Linked DNA regions of Homo sapiens: all the other regions are linked to region 3. The links are contacts of gene promoters, found by promoter capture Hi-C in human tissues and cell types (Jung and others, 2019). All regions are on one chromosome and are shown on one strand. The core of a region is centred on a gene start or on the middle of the fragment in contact, and the rest is flanking DNA. Distances in the headings are between cores, read along the strand shown.

The links. Contacts are between HindIII fragments. The study calls those that stand out against the background at their distance.
Region 1: a fragment that was not itself captured here is called in contact with the fragment with the promoter of NGRN in region 3 in 1 of the 25 tissues and cell types used here (thymus).
Region 2: a contact is called between a fragment that was not itself captured here and the fragment with the promoter of NGRN in region 3, in 1 of the 25 tissues and cell types used here (lymphoblastoid cells).

Annotation. Positions count from the first base shown.
Region 1 is chr15:89,667,456-89,671,807 of GRCh38, forward strand. It overlaps PLIN1 (perilipin 1), which reads right to left. Exons shown (of 9, transcript NM_002666.5): 4 at 4,027-4,109; 5 at 2,525-2,789; 6 at 2,045-2,217; 7 at 147-338. Among named protein-coding and RNA genes, the nearest start is that of PLIN1, 9.7 kb to the right of the region's middle. The HindIII fragment of the contact is 6,131 bases long and covers 1-4,352 here.
Region 2 is chr15:90,834,273-90,838,509 of GRCh38, forward strand. No RefSeq gene overlaps it. Among named protein-coding and RNA genes, the nearest start is that of FURIN, 32 kb to the right of the region's middle. The HindIII fragment of the contact is 6,342 bases long and covers 1-4,237 here.
Region 3 is chr15:90,264,025-90,268,131 of GRCh38, forward strand. NGRN (neugrin, neurite outgrowth associated) reads left to right here and starts at 1,648. Exons shown (of 3, transcript NM_001033088.3): 1 at 1,648-1,852; 2 at 2,264-2,374. The coding sequence starts at 1,689. It overlaps TTLL13 (tubulin tyrosine ligase like 13), which reads left to right. Exons shown (of 15, transcript NM_001396017.1): 14 at 1-34; 15 at 696-1,453. The coding sequence ends at 943. It also overlaps a transcript of CIB1 not described here. RefSeq lists enhancers at 660-1,631, 1,119-1,248, 1,609-1,838, 1,632-2,602. The HindIII fragment of the contact is 14,519 bases long and covers 1-4,107 here.

The DNA.
Region 1 (4,352 bases), core at 696-3,195, 600 kb before region 3:
TGGGCATTTGGGGGTGGGGTGAAGGGTGTTGCACGCACATGCCGTGCCCCTGCATCTGGGGCAGAGGCCCTGAGTTCACCCTATGCCTCTGCTTCTCACCCCTTCTGTGGGCTGGGGGACCTTGAGGCTCCCACTCTCCCCCTCACCTCACTGAACTTGTTCTCCTCAGTCTCCAATTCTTCCTCCTCCTCCGTGTCCTCTCCCTCCGTGTCTGTCTGGTCCTCATGATCCTCCTCCTGGGCGGCTGCGAGGCTGTGCAGCCAGGGTACCCGCACTTCGCTCCTCCGCCGGGACACCGCCTGCATGGCCACTGAGGCACCCCACTGGGCCAGGCTGCTCTGAGGGAGGATGGCAGCAGATAGCTGGCTCAACTGCCCCTGCTGAAGGCCAGGGAGCCCCAGCAGCCCAAGCCCCTCGCCCCCAGGGTCCGGGCCAGGTGGTGAGCAGGGCTCAGCCCCAGCAGACTTTTCTGGAAACTTTTTATTGAGTTGGTAATCTACATACACTAAAGTGCACACATCTTTAGTGTAAGCTCTATGAATTTTTATAAGAACACACCTGTGTAACCACCACAGATCAAGACATAGACCATTTTCAACACCCAAAGACTCCCTGTGTCCCCACTCAGTCCACATTCCCCCAAGAGTGACCACAGTCCTGCTCTCTGTCACCATGCCTTAGTTTTGCCTATTTTCGAACTTCATGTAAGTGGAGTCACACCATGTGTATTCATCTATTAATAGCTCCTTTAGTTAAATATGATGGTGTAAGTTTCACCCATGTTGCTGCAAATGGAAGTAGTTCCTTCTTTTTCATTTCTGTGTAATATTCCATCATACGAATTTCCTGTAATTTACCCATTCTACCGTTGATGGACATTATCATCGCTTCCAGTTCTTAGCTAAGGATATTGCTGATCTGAGCATTTTTCACTTGTCTTGGGAGACTTAAGTGCTCATTTCTGTTGGGTATACACTTAAGAGTGGAACTGCTGGGCCATAGGATATATGTATGTTAGCTTTGGTAGATACTCCTCCCAGATCTTTTAAGAGTGAAAAATTCAATGAACCAGAGTGTCCCATGGGAAGAAATTGACTGAGCAAGGGGGCTGGTATCTCCTGAGGCACATTCTAAACCTCTAGGGAGCCCCACAAACAGAGACTCCTTATTACACAGCTTTTGGGGATGCCACTCTATTCCATGCGAATGGTGGCACGTGAGGTTCTGCCCACTGCAGGCGGGGTCCAGGCATGTGACTCAGTCTCAGCTGTTATTGATGCAGGGGACAGAGGGGAGCTACTACTCCTGTATTCCTGCAGGGGCAACACTTGCTTGAATGAATGATCCACGCCTGATGATGCTTTTAAAAGTACTGCTCAAAAGATGGCTGAAAAGTAGTCATCTTGTTTGCTGGCCTTTATGCTTTAGTATTGTTTTATTTTCTTTTCTGGCCTTAGTTTCTTACTAAAATTCCTTATGAAAAACATCCAGCCTATTTCTGCTAAGATACAGAGAGGTGGAGGTGGGGAGTGGTGGGGAGTGGTGGGGAGTTAACTCTCCCTGGGCCTAGAAAGGGCAACTTCACCTTGGGTGCATTGGTGCTGGGTACACTCTCCCTGACAAAATGGGTTGTATACTTTGTTTATTTAAGGATGACAGTCCCTAGTGCTTGCATAGCAGATGGAGGTCCTGCTGTCTTATAGGTGGGAAGACCCATAGAAAGAGGTCCACTTGGGGGTATGAAGGCTGGGGCTTGTGGGAGACTCAGAGGGAAATGGGGGAGATAGAAGTGAGTGGTGGGGAAGGAGCACTCTAGCAAGGCAGGCCTGCCCTTGCTTAACATCCTCTCCCTTCTCTTTCCCTGTGGTCTGGAAGGCCATCCCTCTACCCCTCTCAAGTCCTCTTAGAACTGAAGCCCCAGCCCACGTTGGAAGAGAGAATGTTCTCAGGACAGGAAGGGGTGATGGGTGGGGGATGGGAGGGACTAGGAGGCCCACAGGGCTCCCAGGCACCGGGTCAGTCAGAGCTCACGGCAGATACTTACCAGGGGCACCACGCCTGGGATCCACATGGCCACGGTGTGGCCCTGCTCCAGGGCCCGGGCCATGGTCTGCACGGTGTATCGAGAGAGGGTGTTGGTCAGAGCCCCAACCCTGCTCAAGAGGCTTGGCTTGGCCTTGGGAGACTTCTGGGCTTGCTGGTGTCCAGGAGCAGGGGCTGGGTAGGGATTTGGGGGGAAAGAAGAGAAAACAGGTCAGAGAGGGGCCGGAGAGATCTGGGTCATGTCTAGGACTGGAAAGTAGGTGTTCTAGGTCCACCACAAACTCACTGGTGAGTTCCACAACTCACTTTCCCTCTTTACAGATGGGGTGGGGGTGGGGGGGGTAAATGATTATGAATCCATCTGAAAATCCCACTGGCCTTCCCTATTCCAGAGCAGTGGCTGGTTGAGCCACCTCCTGCTGATTCCCAGGCAGTGTGTGTGACAACTCACTCCCAGGCCGAGCCTCCGAATGGCAGGTACCTGACTCTTCCTTGTCTGGAGGGAGGAGGTACTCCACCACCTTCTCAATGCTGCCCAAGGCCAAGTCGGCCCCTCCAGAAGCCAGTCGGCCAGCTCGAGTGTTGGCAGCAAATTCCGCAGTGTCTCTGGCCACCCCCCAGGCAAGCTCGCACCCGGCCAAAGCGGCCCCCAGGACCTTGTCTGAAGTGCTCGCGATGGGAACGCTGATGCTGTTTCTGGCACTGCGGAGGCGGGTGGAGATGGTGTCCTTCAGCTCAGAAGCAATCTGGGGGAAGTTGGTGGGGGTGTTAGGCATGTGGTCTTGCAGGCCCTACAAGGGCTGCCCTTCCGGGGTCTGGTGGCCTGAGCCCAGCTCCCAGGAAGGCATCACCTAAAGGCCCAGGGAACTGGTACTGATATTTAGGTACCTGGAATTAAGCTGGGCTTTAGAGGAGAGGGCTCCAACCTTCCCTGTGCCAACTGTTTGGATCTCCTGGCTTCTTCACCCCGCATCACAGCCTGTCAAGATCCCTCCCATCCTGTGAGGATGACCCCAAAGGCTCGTCCTTGGTGCCACCTGTCCTGATACCCTTGGGCTCACAAGGAATCTCCTCCATCCTTTCCTCAGAACACAGCATTTCTGTTGATTTATAGGTGTGCTTGATCTTCCTACAAGTTCTGCACTGAAATAATTTGTCTTTTTCTTCATTATTCTGGGAGCTCTTTTGTGACAAAAATGTTGCCTTTTATCTGGAAAAATGGGGAGCAAAGAGCACAGGTCTCACAGCTGAATAGACCTGCTCTCATTGTCCCCACTTAAGGCTGTGTGGCCGTGGGGGAGACACTGGTTTCCTCTCTGTAAAATGGAGATAACAACCCCTATCCCAGAGGGTTGACAAGTGGATTAAAGAAGAGCGCTTGATAAAGCATAGGTGATGGCCCCGGGCATAGGGTAGGGCTCAGTACCTGTTTGTGGGAAGGGTAGATAGTTGGTCAGTGAGATAGATGAGGTCAGAGACTGAAGCTTATTCCCCAGAAGCACCAAAAATGAGTCCTTATCATAGCAACTACCCAATAAATATGTAGCCAGGTAAAGTGACCTTCAATCTCATGGTCCATAAAAGGTTGGATCTTGAGGATATGGGATGACACTCCTGGGATCTGAATGAGTGTGACTCATGATCTTAGGCAGCTGTAGTTGCCAAGTGGTCCAGGGCAGACTATGGAACCTCAGATCCCAGGGTGCGGTATCGGGAGGCAGTGGGACCCGCCTCAAGCTCCTGTTTGGGTTTGCCTCTGGGCTCGTGCCTGCTGGTCCCAGAAACCCCACCTCCGTTTAGCTTCACAGGGAGAAGAGGAGCCTGTTGTGTGGCCTTGGGAGCAGGCACTCTCCGCCAGCCTTGGAGGGTGCTCACCATGGGACACAGACTTCCAGTCACGGCATCAGCAGCCCCTGCCCTCTCCTCCCTGAGAGGCGGTGACGACAGAGTGCAGGGAGGCTTCGAGAGGTGGGAAGGGCTCACCTTTTCAGGGGGGTACTGGAGGGCGGGGATCTTTTCCTCCAGGTGGTCCAAGCCTCGGCAGGCCAGCTCATTGGCAGCTGTGACTGGAAGGAAAGGGCCAAGTTTGGGTGAGCCCTGCCCCTCCCCATGAGAATCTAGCAGTGGCTTCTGTGCCAAGGAAGTGACTTGGAGCCCTCAAATCCCAAGGCCTGCTGCCTCCCCAGCATCTCTGGGCCCCAGGCCCTTTGCCCTCTTTCGCCCTTGTCTGCAGGGACTCCTCAAGACCCGGGCCAGTTTCTTCTGTCTGTGTGGGAACTCTGGAGTCGCTCAGACCTGCACTCAAAAGG
Region 2 (4,237 bases), core at 511-3,010, 570 kb after region 3:
AAGTTATGGGAAGGTGAGGGCGGAACTGCAAAGGAACAAAAGTTGGATTTGTTTGTTTGTTTGTTCGTTCTGAGACAGAGTTTCACTCTTGTTGCCCAGGCTGGAGTGCAATGGTGCGATCTCGGCTCACTGCAACCTCCGCCTCCCAGGTTCAAGCAATTCTCTTGCCTCAGCCTCCCGAGTAGCTGGAACTACAGGCACGTGCCACCATTCTCGGCTAATTTTTTGTATTTTCAGTAGAGATGGGGTTTCACCATGTTGGCCAGGCTTGTCTCAAACACTCTTTACCTCAGGTGATCCACTCGCCTCGGCCTCCCAAAGTGCTGGGATTACAGGCATGAGCCACTGCGCCCGGCCGAGACAACCACAATTCTTTTATTGTTGTTGTTTTTTGAGATCGGAGTCTCCCTATGTTGCCTGGTCTGGTCTCAAACTCCTGGGCTCAAGTGATCCTCCAGTCTCAACCTCCTAAATAGCTGGGATTATAGGTGCATGCTGCTGTACCTGGTTTTGCAATTCTTTTGGAAAGAAACTTTCTTAGTCAGATAAGGAATTCCAGGAAGAGTCCCTCCCTCCACTCGGGGGTAGGGAGGGTACAAGACAAGGTTAGGCAGCTTTGCAGTCCTCAGCATGTCAGAGCCCCAGTCTGGGGTATCACTTTCTGAGCCCCAACCTTCCTATCCCTCTTCATCTCTCCAAACTTCTCTGTGTAGGTGGCATTCCCCAAGGTTAACACGAATAACGGGCTATAGTAAGCATGTACTGAGCACCAGAAGTTTTAGGTGCAGCAGAGAACAGAGCCGATGAAACCCCTGCCTTCATGAAGATATCATTCTTTTTCTTTCTTTCTTTCTTTTTTTTTTTTTGAGACGGAGTCTCACTCTGTCGCCCAGGCTGGAGTGCAGTGGCACGATCTCGGCTCATTGCAACCTCCACCTCCTGGGTTCAAGCAATTCTCTGCCTCAGCCTCCCGAGTAGCTGGGATTACAGGCACCCGCCACCACGCCCAGCTAATTTTTGTATTTTTAGTAGAGACGGGGTTTCACCATCTTGGCCAGGCTGGGCTTGAACTCCTGACCTTATGATCCACCCTCCTCAGCCTCCCAAAGTGCTGGGATTACAGGTGCAAGCCAATGCACCCGGCCTGAAGATATCATTCTAATGGGAGGAGTTTGTTACTTCCTTCTTTGTACTTTTCTGAATTGCTTGTTTTGTTTGAGAGTTAGCATATATCTTTTTTTTTTTTTTTTTTTGAGACAGAGTCTCTCTCTGTCGCCCAGGCTGGAGTGTGGTGGCATGATCTCGGCTCACTGCAACCTCCACCTCCCAGGTTCAAGCAATTCTCCTGCCTCAGGTGCCTGAGTAGCTGGGATTACAGGTGCACGCCACCACGCCTAGACAATTTTTTTGTGTGTGTATTTTTAGTAGAGACAGGGTTTCATCATGTTGGCCAGGCTGGTTTCAAACTCCTGACCTCAAGTGATCCACCTGCCTCGGTCTCCCAAAGTGCTAGGATTACAGGCGTGAGCCACTGCACCCAGCCAGCATACATCTTTTTTTTTCTTTTCCTGAGATGGACTCTTACTCTGTCGCCCAGGCTGGAGTGCAGTGGTGTGATCTTGGCTCACTGTAACCTCCGCCTCCTGGGTTCAAGCAATTCTCCTGCCTCAGCCTCCCAAGTAGCTGAGATTATAGGCACGCGCCACCATGCCTGGCTGATTTTTGCATTTTTAGTAGAGACAGCATGCGCCACCGTGCCAGGCCATATATCATTTTTATAAAAACAAAGGCCGGGCGCGGTGGCTCCTGCCTGTAATCCCAGCACTTTGGGAGGCCTAGGCAGGTGGATCACCTGAAGTCAGGAGTTTGAGACCAGCCTGACCAACGTGAGGAAACCCTGTCTCTACTAAAAATACAAAAATTAACCAGGCGTGGTGGTGGGCGCCTGTAATCCCAACTACTTGGGAAGCTGAGGCAGGAGAATCACTTGAACCCAGGAGGTGTAGGAGGTTGCAGTGAGCCGACATCATGCCATGGCACTCCAGCCTGGGTGATGGAACAAGATTCCATCTCAAAAAAAAAAAAAAAAAAGAAAAAAGAAAACAATTTACCTTCACACACACATAAAACACATCCACGGAGGATGATTCTTCTGAACAGCTGGAGTTGGGAAGCACTACATTTGAAGCTGGATGAGTCATTGACACTCTTGTGTAAACAGGGTTTTCAGGAAGACAGCGTGGGGACCCAGAGTCTCTGGAGGTCCCAGCTAAAGATAAGATTCCCTGCGGAGCAGCTGACCCTGGGAAGAGCTGAAAAGGGAAGCTGGTTCCCCTGGGTTTTTAGGCTCTCTTGGAAGGAACAACCATCCAGGCTATCTCATGAGGCGCTCTTGCCAGAGATGCTTGTCCCAGTCCTGATCCTAAGCCCCTGCCTCGTTGGCATTGGTGAGCCCCGTAAGCCCCATCCACTTCCTCCCCCTCATCACCCACCTATCTCTTAAGCAGGGCCCTGACTCCTGCCCCGTCCACTGTGCCCTCACTCTGGCCACACAGGCCTGCCCACTGCCTATTTTTTTTTTTTTTTTGAGACAGAGTCTCACCCTGTCACCTAGGCTGGAGTGCAGTGGCACGATCTCTGCTCACTGCAACCTCTGCCTCCCAAGTTCAAGTGATTCTCCTGCCTCAGCCTTCCGAGTAACTGGGACTATAGGTGTGTGCCACCATGCCTGGCTAATTTTTGTATTTTAGTACAGACGGGGCTTCACCATGTTGGCCATGCTGGTCTCGAACTCCTGACCTCAAGTGATCTGCCGCCTCGGCCTCACAGAATGCTGAGTTACAGGCGTGAGCCACCACACCCAGCCGACCACTGCTTGGCTTTTGCAGGTGCTTTTACCTCCACCAGAATCTCCTCCTCGCCCCTAGGCTTCGAGGCCTCCTTTTCTGGAAGGCTTCCGTGACAGTCCAGACCACCTGGCTCTGCCTTGTTCCAGTGACTCAGAGGCTCAGAGCCGGCGAAGCCTTGGGGCCTTGCACCCGGGAGGCAGGAAGGCACACGGGCCCTGCCTACTGGGTGACCTTGGCCAAGTCCTTTGCCCTGGATGACTCTCTTTCCTCATCGGAAAGATAGGGGCATCATGAGCTGCTTGATAGGAATCAAGAAGATAACGTGTGAAATGTTAGCTATTTTTAGTTTCAGGTTTGTTGGAAAGAATGACAATGAGACGAGCTTACAGGAAGGGGGAATGAAAGGGGGAAATCAAGTCAGTAAGGGAAGAATGTGATAAAAAGCTTAAATGGAAATTTAAAAAACCTAACTTTTCTGGGAGGACGGAGGCTCCTTGTGGAGCCAGTTGAGGGTCTGTGGGGGTCATGGGGGCACCGTCAGACACTGTGGGAGATGCTGGACAGGGCTGGGTCCAGGCCTCCAGGCCCAGTGGGACCTCCCTTCTCAGCCCCCTTCTCTCTTTTTTTTTCCTTTGAGACGGAGTCTCACTCTGTCACCCAGGCTGGAGTGCAATGGCACAATCTCGGCTCACTACAACCTCCACCTCCCAGGTTCAAGCGCTTCTCCTGCCTCAGCCTCCCAAATAGCCAGGACTACAGGCATGTGCCACCACGCCCGGCTAATTTTTGTATTTTTAGTAGAGATGGGGTTTCACCATGTTGGTCAGGCTGGTCTTGAACTCCTGACCTCAGGTGATCTGCCCGCCTCGGCCTCCCAAAGTGCTGGGATTGCAGGCATGAGCCACCGCGCCCGGTTCAGCCCCCTTCTCTTTCAGCTCAGGCCCCCCTGCCCCTGCAGAGCCTTGGGAAGTGTCACCCCACACCAACTCCACCAGCTCCTACGAAAGCACCCCCAAATCATACCCTCTAGGCACCGCAGCAAAAGCAGCTTCAGGGCAATCCCCCAGCACAACCTCACCCCTTCCTGAGACTGGTGGGTGAGCTGAGGTCACCCGCCGCTGCCAGCAGGGCTGGGTAAATCTCGGAGCAGGCGGGGGCGAGGGCGGGGGCTGTCACCGCGGTGTTGCCTGACGCACCCTCCTCCCCAGCTCAGGAAATTGTGAGGTGAACTCTTCCCCTCCAGAGCGCTGTCTGCTGTGAAGGCGGCTCAGGCCCCCAACACACACATAGCAGGTGACAGGTAGGGCCCAAGCACTGGAGTCCCCGCTCCTCCCTGAAGACCTATCAGGGCATCTCTGGGACTGTGTTCCTGCTCTCCCTGCTCTGCA
Region 3 (4,107 bases), core at 398-2,897:
TATTTTTCCAGTGCCAGAATCAGGCTCACTAGCCGTAAGTATGCAAAACTAGCTTTGGTCATTTTGACATATGTAAATCCCACTAGCAAGCATAGAGCTTGGATGCCCCTAAAATATAATATGGCACTTCCACCAGTGTAAGAATGGGGAAGTTAGGGTACCCATTTATTTACTCCTTTTTTTTTGAGACAAGGTCACGCTCTGTCGCCAAGGCTGAAGTACAATGGCTTGATCTCACTTCACTGCAAACTCCACTCACGGGCTCAAGTAATTCTCCTGACTCAGCCTCCTGAGTAGCTGGGACTATAGGCACACACCACCATGCTCGGCTAACTTTTGTATATTTTGTTTTTGCCACGTAGCCCAGGCTGGTCTTGAACTCCTGATCCACCTGAATCAGTCTCCCAAAGTGCTAGGATTACAGGTGTAAGCCACCGCACCAGGCCTATTTAATCCTTTCTGTACACTAGACCCTGGTGATAGAAATGGCAGAAATACAGTCCCAGCACTCAAGAGGTAATAGGAACATGGACAAAAAGACATACCATACCAATTACAATACAGTGTGGGAAAGACAGTGGAGGGAAGCATGAGATGCCCTTCCTCTGTGTTGGTAATTGGGCCACAGTTGGGAAAGAGGTGAACAAATCTCTTCTGTGAATACCAACTCAGGGACATCCATGTTTCCACTGCAGAAGGACAAGCCAGCAGAAGGCTAGAAGCCATAAACCGAGTCCTGGCAGGATCAGTGCCACCCACTTTAACCCCAAAGCAGGGCTATTTTCTGCAACCGGAAAGAGTGGCATCTGACTCATGGACTGAATGCACCTTGCCCTCCATGGTAAACTCTGAACACAGAGCAGCCAAGGTTCCCCTCTGCCCTGCGTCTGCACCCATGCTGCAGCGTTCCAGAGCACTCCTCAACATCAATCAGTTCAGGTAAAAGCAGGAGGGAAGCACTCTACCTCTCCTGGATAACCTCCCCAGGTTTCCAAAGGGCATTAAATCTTTGCTAAATGAATGACTGCCACCAAGTTCCACTTTGAAAAGCCCTGCCCAGGAACCCCATTTGTATAAGGCAAAATACAAAGACACCAAGAATTCCTCAATACCCTAAGATTAATTGGGGATCGGTAAAGACTAGAAGATGAAGAGGCGCCAAGGCCAGCCATGTACTCATTTCTGCTCATCAAGCCTTAGCCTGGGTTTATCGCTAGGTGATGGGTCTGAACCCTAGGTGCGGCCCGGGGCTGGAGGCCATCCAGGAGACAATGAGCCCCTTTCCCAGAGAAGCCGAGTGCCCAAGGCACTGGGCTGTCGCCGTCAGAAGACTGCCGAGCGGAAGCCCTGCCCACCGAGGTGGCGGAGACAGGCAGGCCTGGGCAGCCGCTGGGGCGGAGGGACGGCTCTTGGAAACGGAATCCGTACTTTAATTAAAGTTTATGCAGTTTTCCAGGAGCGTCCTGTACCTCATTTCGGCCCTCACGTTTCAGGGAAGCCCTCTCCACAGTTACAGGCAGAAAGGGTGGGCCACTGAGCAGCGTGAGCCCAGATCTTACCCCCACCAAGTGAAGCGGGAAATAACTTGCTACTACCCAGCCTCCGGCCCGCCCCTTCCACTTCCGGTCTTACCCGGCTACTTCCGCTGCTGTTTCGTAGCCGACTGCTGAAGGCTGGTTTGCGTCGACATGGCGGTTACCCTGAGTCTCTTGCTGGGCGGGCGCGTTTGCGCCGCCGTCACTCGCTGTGGGTTCGCGACCCGGGGGGTGGCGGGCCCAGGCCCTATTGGCCGGGAGCCGGACCCCGATTCCGACTGGGAGCCGGAGGAACGGGAGCTGCAGGAGGTGGAGAGGTACCGGCTTCTCCCCGGGCCCTCAGCTTGAAGCAGGGCCTCGTGCCCCGGCGCTCCAGGCCGCGCCCCCTTGGCGCCGGGTGTCCTGCCGCTGCTTGCGCAGCGGCCCTTGTTTCTTCTTACCCGTTGTTAGGGGCGCAGCGTCAGGTGTTCAGCTCCCCTGGGACCACTGGTCCCTTCATTAGTGACGTATTTCATCATCAGTTTAGAGAGTTCGGCATGCTTACAGGCAGTTATTGTTCTAGGTGTTAGCTTTCTGGGTGTACGGAGCAGCTCTAAGCCGGCAACATGGCCCGGTTGCCCTTGCGATCAAAGAGAAGAGGGCTGGGCGCTCCATGATTTAGCCTGAGGCTCTTCAAACATCCATTCTGCTTCCACGCATGGCTTCTGCCATTGGTTCTCTTCCCCCAGCACCCTGAAACGACAGAAACAAGCAATCCGATTCCAGAAAATTCGGAGGCAAATGGAGGCGCCTGGTGCCCCGCCCAGGACCCTGACGTGGGAAGCCATGGAGCAGATACGGTGAGACTCAGGATACCTTGTTTGTATCCGCTGTGATGAGAAGTGAAGGATGCTGGAGCCCAGAAACGGGTTTGGCTTTTTTGATACTGCTTTTATATTTTCGTTTACTTTTTGTCGTTGAAATTTATTATCAGAAAAGTAGAGTAATATAACGAACTTCCCTAACCCTGTCATTATCTAGATTTAATAGTGTTTTGTTTTGTTTTTTAAAGAGACGGGGTTTCGCTATCGCCTCGAACTCCAGACCTCAAGTGATTCTCCCGCCTCGGCCTCTCAGAGTGCTGGGATTACAGGCATGAGCCACTGCGCCCCGCCTGGTTTTAATAGTTTTTAACGTTATGACGTGGTTGGTTCATTTTTACTGAAATTTTTAAATAGTAAATCGCAGACATCACAACATTTAACCCTTGAATGTAGGTTGTGACGTTCCCAACCTAAGGTACAGGGATGCTGGTGCTTCCATAGGTAGGTGCATTTTTCTGAAGACAGGATCTATAATTTAGGAAAGCTTAAAAGAGTTTTTAAGTTTTTTTGTTTTGAGTAGGTAAAGTATTACATATGGCTCAACCTAACAGTATAACATGGTATACACATTGAGAATTATTTGTCCCACCCACTCTCCTGTGGGTACTTTTTTTTTTTTTTTTTGGTAGTTGGGGGTCTCACTCTGTCGCCAAGGCTGGAGTACAATGATGTGATCACCGGTCACTGCAGCCTCTACCTCCTGGGCCCAAGCCATCCTCCCACTTCGTCCTCCCAAGTAGCTGGGACTACAGGTGCATGCCACCATGCTTGGTTAATTTTGTTTATTTTTTGTAGAGATAGCCTCATCATGTTGCCCATGCTAGTCTCCAATTCCCAGGGCTCAAGCGATCATCCCACCTCAGCCTCCTAAAGTGTTGGGATTACAGGCATGAGCCACTGTGTGCAGCTGTACTATTTTTAATAGTTTTTCTCTACCAAAAACTAGGCTCTGTGCCCTGAGTGAGCCACTGCGCCTGGCCCTCAATTCTTTTTTTATAGATGGTGTTATTATATTTTTTTGAGGCAGTATATGAGGCAGTATATGACAGTGGTTTTTAATTTTTATTTAAACAATTTTTTCTCCTATTTATTTATTTGACAGAGATGGGGGTCTCACTATGATGACCAGGCTGGTCTCAAACTTCTGGCCTCAACTGATCTTCCCATCTCGGCCTCCCAAAGTGCTGGGATTAGAGGCGTAAGCCACCATGCCTGGCCAGAATGCATTATTTAACCTGTCTTTTATTGTGGGCATTTAGTTGGGTTGTTTCCATTTCTGTTGCTCACTAATAGTGCCCCAGTGAATAACTACGTATGTGTATCATTCTGCATACCTGCCAGGAATATTTGTTATATACATTCCCAGAAGTAAGGTTGCCAGGTCAAAAGACAAATGCATTTGCAATTTGATAAATATTGCTAAGTAGCCCTACATAGATTATGTACTATTTTTCATTTCCATCAGAATGACTCTGGAATTGAAATTTAAAATAAAGGGGATTCTGTAGAGCTGCTCAAGATTTTGTGAGCCTGTAGCACCTTCTGAGTCCTCAGTCAGGTCTAGCTCCTCTTTTTTTCGTTTGTTTGTTTGTTTTTTGTTTGAGGCAGTCTCACTCTGTCGCCCAGGCCAGAGTGCAGTGGCGAAATCTCAGCTCACTGCAGCCTCTGCCTCCAGGTTCAAGAGATTCTTGGACCTCAGCCTCCCAAGT